Regions from separate parts of the Homo sapiens genome. Here region 2 is linked to region 1. The links are contacts of gene promoters, found by promoter capture Hi-C in blood cells and fetal thymus (Javierre and others, 2016). All regions are on one chromosome and are shown on one strand. The core of a region is centred on a gene start or on the middle of the fragment in contact, and the rest is flanking DNA. Distances in the headings are between cores, read along the strand shown.

The links. Contacts are between HindIII fragments. The CHiCAGO score rates a contact against its expected background, and 5 or more counts as called.
Region 2: a contact is called between the fragment with the promoter of KLHL28 here and the fragment with the promoter of HECTD1 in region 1, in 2 of 17 cell types (non-activated CD4 T cells and naive CD8 T cells). The highest score is 6.2, in non-activated CD4 T cells.

What each region holds. Positions count from the first base shown.
Region 1 is chr14:31,206,489-31,209,500 of GRCh38, reverse strand. It overlaps HECTD1 (HECT domain E3 ubiquitin protein ligase 1), which reads left to right and starts at 1,708. Exons shown (of 43, transcript NM_015382.4): 1 at 1,708-2,485. RefSeq lists enhancers at 767-1,278, 1,132-1,301, 1,279-1,790, 2,303-2,816 and silencers at 1,482-1,821, 2,122-2,331, 2,452-2,661. The HindIII fragment of the contact is 4,913 bases long and covers 1-3,012 here.
Region 2 is chr14:44,960,314-44,963,474 of GRCh38, reverse strand. KLHL28 (kelch like family member 28) reads left to right here and starts at 1,528. Exons shown (of 5, transcript NM_017658.5): 1 at 1,528-1,629. TOGARAM1 (TOG array regulator of axonemal microtubules 1) reads right to left here and starts at 1,285. Exons shown (of 20, transcript NM_001308120.2): 1 at 1-1,285. The coding sequence starts at 1,053. RefSeq lists enhancers at 828-1,342, 992-1,801, 1,343-1,857, 2,372-2,461. The HindIII fragment of the contact is 5,188 bases long and covers 653-3,161 here.

The sequences.
Region 1 (3,012 bases), core at 459-2,958:
CATTTCGACAACCTCCAGCTAGTCTCGTCTAGATAGATCCTTTTAGTCGTTCTAGACACTTTCCATAATTAGTCTTCTTAAGACTAGTTTTTCCAGTGTTGTAGTCCAGAACTTGCTACTTAGCTCAGCCTAATTTCTGCATTCCTCATTCAAGGCCTTCCCCACTTTAGCTCCAAATTTCTCTCTCTGTTGCTTACTGTTGGTTCTTTGCTGGGGGCACAGGTGACCTTTCCTATGTCTAGGAACATATCAGGCTTTATGTTCTTCCCTTTCCTTTCAGTGTCTACATTGTACCCATTCTTCAAGGTCCAGAGGGAATGCCACTTCCTTCTTGAAGTTTCCTGGCAGCTCCAATTCACACTCATGACATCTAAATAATTATCCTCATGTGTTGTACTTGGGACAAAATAGTTGAATCCTCTTTTTCCTCTTGTTTCGTTAACAGGATACCTAAACGGACCATTACCTGCGACAACGGGACATGCGCGGATAGCTATCTGAAGTACAAATTTGTCATTTCCAAAATACTGGTTCTTTTTCTAAAGAAGTAGTAAAAAAGAAAGAAAAAAAAGAACCAGTATTTTGGAAATGACAAATTTGCTTAGTCGCCCAGGCTGGAGTGAGGTGGCATTATCAAAGCTCACTGCAGCCTCAATTTCTTGGGCTCGAGGGATCATCCCATCTCAACCGCTCCAGTAGCTGGGACCATAGGTGTGCGTCACCGCATCTGGGTAATTATTTTTTAAATTTTAATTTTTTTGCAGAGACCAGGTCTATGTTGCTCAGGCTGGTCTCGAACTCCGGGCCTCAAGAGAGTAAAATCATAAAGTGCTGGGATTACAGGAAACGCAGCGGACCCAAATTCTGTTCTTTACTCATACCTAGCAGCTCCTCTGGTTGCCTGAGGGACCATGTCTCAAACACTATCATGTCGTATTAATTTTTCTTTTTGTTTAAAAGCTGAAAGTGAGAGTACAGTAGGACGTCTCCGGGCTCCAACTACGTCCTATAAGCATGCATCCTTTATTCTGAATGCGTGTGAAATAAAGTTTGAAAAGAATAACCACAGACATACTTGTGACCACAAGCCACAAGAAACGTAGTCAAAAGTGCACTCTCAGTGCTGCTGCCGACCGGGCACGGCGCTGGGCCTGCATTTGCGCTTTCCTGGAGCCTCAGTGTCTCATCTGTACAACGTTGATAATCGTCGGCAGCACCTCTTTCCCAGGGTTGCTCTGAAGGGTTTTCTTTGGGGTGAACCGCCAGGCGGTCGGCCTCCCAGGAGCGGGGGGAGACGCCTTCCTTACGCGACGCACTTCCGTGCGCGAGGAGGGAAGATCGTGGCTGAGTGCGGGTGGCCTGGGCGGAAGGCTCAGCGGGGACAGGTTGGGCCGCAGCTTTGCTGTGCTGTGCCGTGCGACGCCCTCCGCAGGAGCGCGCAAAGTGTTAGCCACGGCGCCAAGCAAGCTGGACGTGCGTGCATGAGCGCGCTCGGACTGACAGGGAAGCGAAAAGGGGGCCAGGGCGCACCATAGAAAAGCCGCGGCAGAAACGTACGACACAGCCCGAGGCGGCGGGGGCGAGAGCTCCGGGGCAGGGACGGCGACGCGGCGTACCCGGTTTGGCGCCCCTGCGCGGCGGTCGGCCGTCCCGCAGCGCCCCAGGTGGCCGCCGGCGGGGTCGCCGCCGGGGGAGTGGATTTGCTCCGCCTCCGCCGGGCTCGGCTGCCCTCGGCAGCTTCCCCGCCTGGCTCTCCCTCGACCCTCCTCCCCTCCCCCTCCCGGTTCGCGATGGACTGGGCCTCCCCGCCGCGCCGCCGCCGCCGTCGCCCGCAGCACCGCGCGGGCCTCTGAGTTGCAGGGCCTGAGGAGCCGCGTGCTGGGGACTGGACGTCCGCTGGCTGCTGCCGCACGCGAGAACCTCTCGCTTCCCTGTCACCAGGTCCTCGCGGAGGAAGGGGAGGGACGAGGCGCGGCTTTTCCTGTGCCGCCTGCCCGGTTCGACCTGCGCGGCCTGCGGCTTCTTGGGAACTCTAGGGCCGCGGCCGGGCCTGGCTCTGCCGGCGGCCTGTTGGGAGCTGGATCGGAGCGGTTTGGAACGACAAGCCCGAGTAAGAGCCTGCGGGAAGGGGAGGCGGGAGCGCCTCGGACCGTCGGAAGGGCCCTGCGTGGGGGCGCGGATCCCGGACGCCCGGCGAGTGGCGGAAAGCGAGACCCCGGCGCCGAGTGAGGTCGGCCAGGCTGCTGCCGACTTCCCCGCTGGCCCCTTTGTTCCCCTCCCGGGGCCCTGCCGGCGGCGGGGCCCGGTTGCCCGCGCCAGAGCCTCAGGCCGGCTCCTTTTGCCCTTGAGAAGGGTTCGCTGCCAGGCCTTCGAGTTCCGGGCGCAGCTCCCGGGAGAGCCGGCGCCCTGCCTGGCCCGGCGGCCTCCTCTCGGGCACGAAGGCTTGCTGCTGCTTCTCCAGAACTTCCCTTCCTCGTAGACACAGGTAGTTAACTTAGCGGGGTTTGGTGCTGGGGAACCACAGCGCGGGGGCCAGCGCCTCTCAGCGCCCGGCTCGGCCGGGCCCCGGGTGTGGGGTCAACCCCGCTGGTCGCCGCCGTTGGGTGCCCACCGCGCCCCGCCGCCGGCTTCCCACACTTGCGGCTGCGTTACGTGGGACCCAAAGCTGTCCTCCAGTCAGGGCGCTTACGGGGCGCTTTTGTAATGACTTACCTGTTGGGGTTGCTTCTCGGTTTTGTTTTTGTTTTTTTAACCAACTGCCCTATCTTGTGAAGCTGGGGAAAGAGGGCCCTAGGTTGGCCTACATTCGTTCGGATCCGTAACCTGCTGGTCCATTGCATTTACTTTTAGCCTTTCCTTTTTTAATTTTTTTATTTTTTTAACTTTTAAGAATAGTTGCCAAGACTGCCAAAATTCCTAACCAACTCTTTATTCATAGATAAATCTTGTATATAATTGTCGTTTGTATTTGGATATCTTTAAAATAGAAGTAAATTGAGAAGTCAGCAGAAT
Region 2 (3,161 bases), core at 279-2,778, about 14 Mb before region 1:
AATAATCCCAAATTTAAGATTGCTGTTGGAAAGAGTCACTGCACAGGGAAGGGGATCTTCAGGAAATCCAGAGGCTTCAAGTTCCAAATAATAAGGAACCTGACTTCCAAACTGGGACTCCAGGCGGCGATTGTAGTGTCTCCTCAGGGCAGAGGGCAGACGAGAAATGTAAGATTGAAACCTGTCTTGGCCAAGTCGCTCCCCAATTTGTTGAAGTGCGGAGAAAGCTGTCTCAGATTCTTCTTCTGTCTCCTGATCACCAAGCTTTCGGGCTAGGGATATTATCACCTCGGTGAGATCCAGACCAAGCAACAAGTCCTCAGTAGTAAGCAAGATGGGAAGCAGTAGTGCTGTGGAAGCTCTAAGTCGGGCATCGGTACTTTCCAGTCCTTGTTGTATAAGCGTTCTCAGCACCTCTCCAGGACTACGTTTCAGACATATATGAAGGATCTGCAGCGCATCTTTCCGCAGGGCTGGATTCTCTTCCCGTAACGAGACAACTAGTTGAGGCAAAAGTGCTAAGCTAAAGGCCTCTTCAAGCTGGCCTGCCTCCCCCTGACCCCGGAGAACGTCCGAGAGAAGTTGCAAGCAGAGCCGCTTCTCATCACTACCTCCTTCCACAAGCACTCGGCCCAGTGCCCGATACAAAGCTTCCTTGCGTCGGGGGAAGCCAAGTCGACCGCCCCGCCGCGGCAAAGCAGCTTGCAAAGCCTGGAAGGCCTCAGAAGGATCCCGGGCAGTGCGGAGGAGTTGAAGGAGCCGAGTGTCCTCTTCATCTCCCCCTGACAAACCGCCTCCAGACTCAGACCAGCTGCTTGAGACTGCCTCCGAGGGCATCAAGAGGGCCGAGGCCAGAGGCGAAGTTGTAGTGGGGCAGGAACCGTGGTCCCCCGCAGCTCCACGGAAGTAGTAGTTTTTCTCTCCTCTCATAATGCCCCCAACTCGACTATCATCGGTCTCTGGGGCGGAAGGACGACTGCGGCTCTGGAGCCGATAGGTAGAGAGGACTGGAAAGGGCGGCAGCAGAAGCAGCGCGGAGGGGGCAGCCGCCATGCAGGGTTGTCAGGTGGTGGTGGTTGGAAGAAACCATTGCCGTCTCCAAAGGGCTCGATGGAGCCCAGACTTCCAGATCCTCTCCAAGCCCCAAGCTGCAGAAGAGGCAAAAGAACAGCTTCAGCCTGCCGCCAGGCCGCCCCCAACTCCGGGAGGCAGCCTCTGGCAAAATGGCCCCCGTCTGAGCCCTAGACCCCACAGCTGCCACCGGGCGTAACCAAGGGCACCACGTGACCAAACCGATTGCTTCCATGGTGATGTACCCAGCGCGGACCTCTTGACCCGGAAATCCACTTGCCGTGATGAATGCTGGGTTATGTAGTCCACGTCAGGTGTTGAGACTAGGCCAAAGTCTCCTGGAAGAGGAAGTCAGAACGTTGTAAACGCAGCTACAGCGGAGAAGGGAGGAGGGGTGAAGCCATTTGACGGATGTGACGCTTTCCTTGCTCTGGGCGGAAGTTGCCCGCCCCACCCGTAAGAGTTAGGGTTTGACCGGAGCTAGTGAGGATCCAGCCCAGGCTCCAGTTGTCCGCGGTTCCTCCTCCTGTCGCTGCCCGTGTGATTACTGAGACTCAGGTATTTTCCTTTTGCTGTCCTCCAGCGGTGCAGGCTTTGGCAGTGTTTTGCCCGAATGCCACTGGTGCTAGAGTAAGAGGCAAAGGACTGAGCGGAGCAGGTGGAAAGAGAGGCGACATCTTCTTGTGCAGGGCTCGTCACCCTTGTAAACGCGTTACTCTCTACCACCCTGAGTAACTGCGATCCTTTCCTCTTGCCATCTGCTTATCAGGACAGAAGATCTGGACCACGGCCAAGCTCACAAATCGGGTATTTTTTTTCAATTCCTGGTCTTTGGGGCCTTTATTCGCCTCCCCCTTCTCCTTTTGTCGACTTCTCTTAACCCTCCGGCCGCAGAGGGTTAATTTTTTTTTGTTTTTGTTTGTTTGTTTTTGGCAACGTTTCCTTACCCTCATCACTTTGCGTTTTCTTTACAACGTACATAATATGGAAATAGGTCTGTTTTTTTCCCCCTGTAGCTAACCGCCTCTCCCTTAGACGTTATCAAAATCTTTCCTTCTAATGCAGTTCCTCTGTGGGACTCTCCCCTAACCTCCGCCCCCTCCGTCTGCCGCCCTAGCCTCCCTGCAGGATCCTCAAGCGTCTCTGCAGCCTTTCAGTCTCCTAGAGACAGAGATTGCGAAGACAATTTCACTTGCGGTGGAAGTTCTTGGCATCATGGTTCTAAGAGAATTCTGCCTTGTGGATTTAGGAATGATAGTAGACATTTATTTATTTTAGGCGAACTGAGAATTTTGTGTGCATTTTCTCCTCATAAGTGATACTTAAACGGACACAGTGGAAGAGCTGGAGTGTCTAGTGTGAGCCTGAATGCTTTGGAGTGTGGAAGAGATATTTTTTTTTTTTGAAGGAATAATACTATTACTTTTGAATGACTCGTGCGAAAAGTCTAAGTTATCATTTGAAGACCCAAATTTATGCACTTCAAATGCAAGTATTCCTACCCTGCTCTGTACCAGGTGGGATTTCTCTTAAATACTTTTTAAAGTCTTGGAATAAATGAGTCACATATGCCAAACAGCTTTATAAATAATGCTCCCAGCTGATGCAAGTGCAAAAATAATTTCTGGATTTTTGCCTTAAAGTACGATTTGAATATCAGTTTTGTTTTGTTTTGTTTTTGGGGGGGTGGGGGTGGGGAATAGACTATAATGTAAATGAGGCTGTGTAAATATACATCCTATGTTTTGGTTTAAATTCTAGGCTGTTACTTTGGTTTTAATGAGCCATTTTCGTGTTTAAATGAATCTGCCTAAATTAGGTTTAGCTAGCATGTTTCATTTTAGGGACAGGTTAAAGACAGGGAGGTGAAAAACAAGAAATGATTGTAGCAGTTGTCAATGAGAAAGTGTCTGGTTCTCACAGTTCCAACCTAAGAAGCTCAAATGTGTAGACTTCTAGTCATGTATTGCCCAGACTTGAGGAACCCAGTTCAAACTAACCTAGACAATGATGTACACATTACAGTGCCAGTTTATGTTGGATCAGAATTTTCAAGTTGAAAATCCAGTGCACTCTTTCTTGTATCCAAG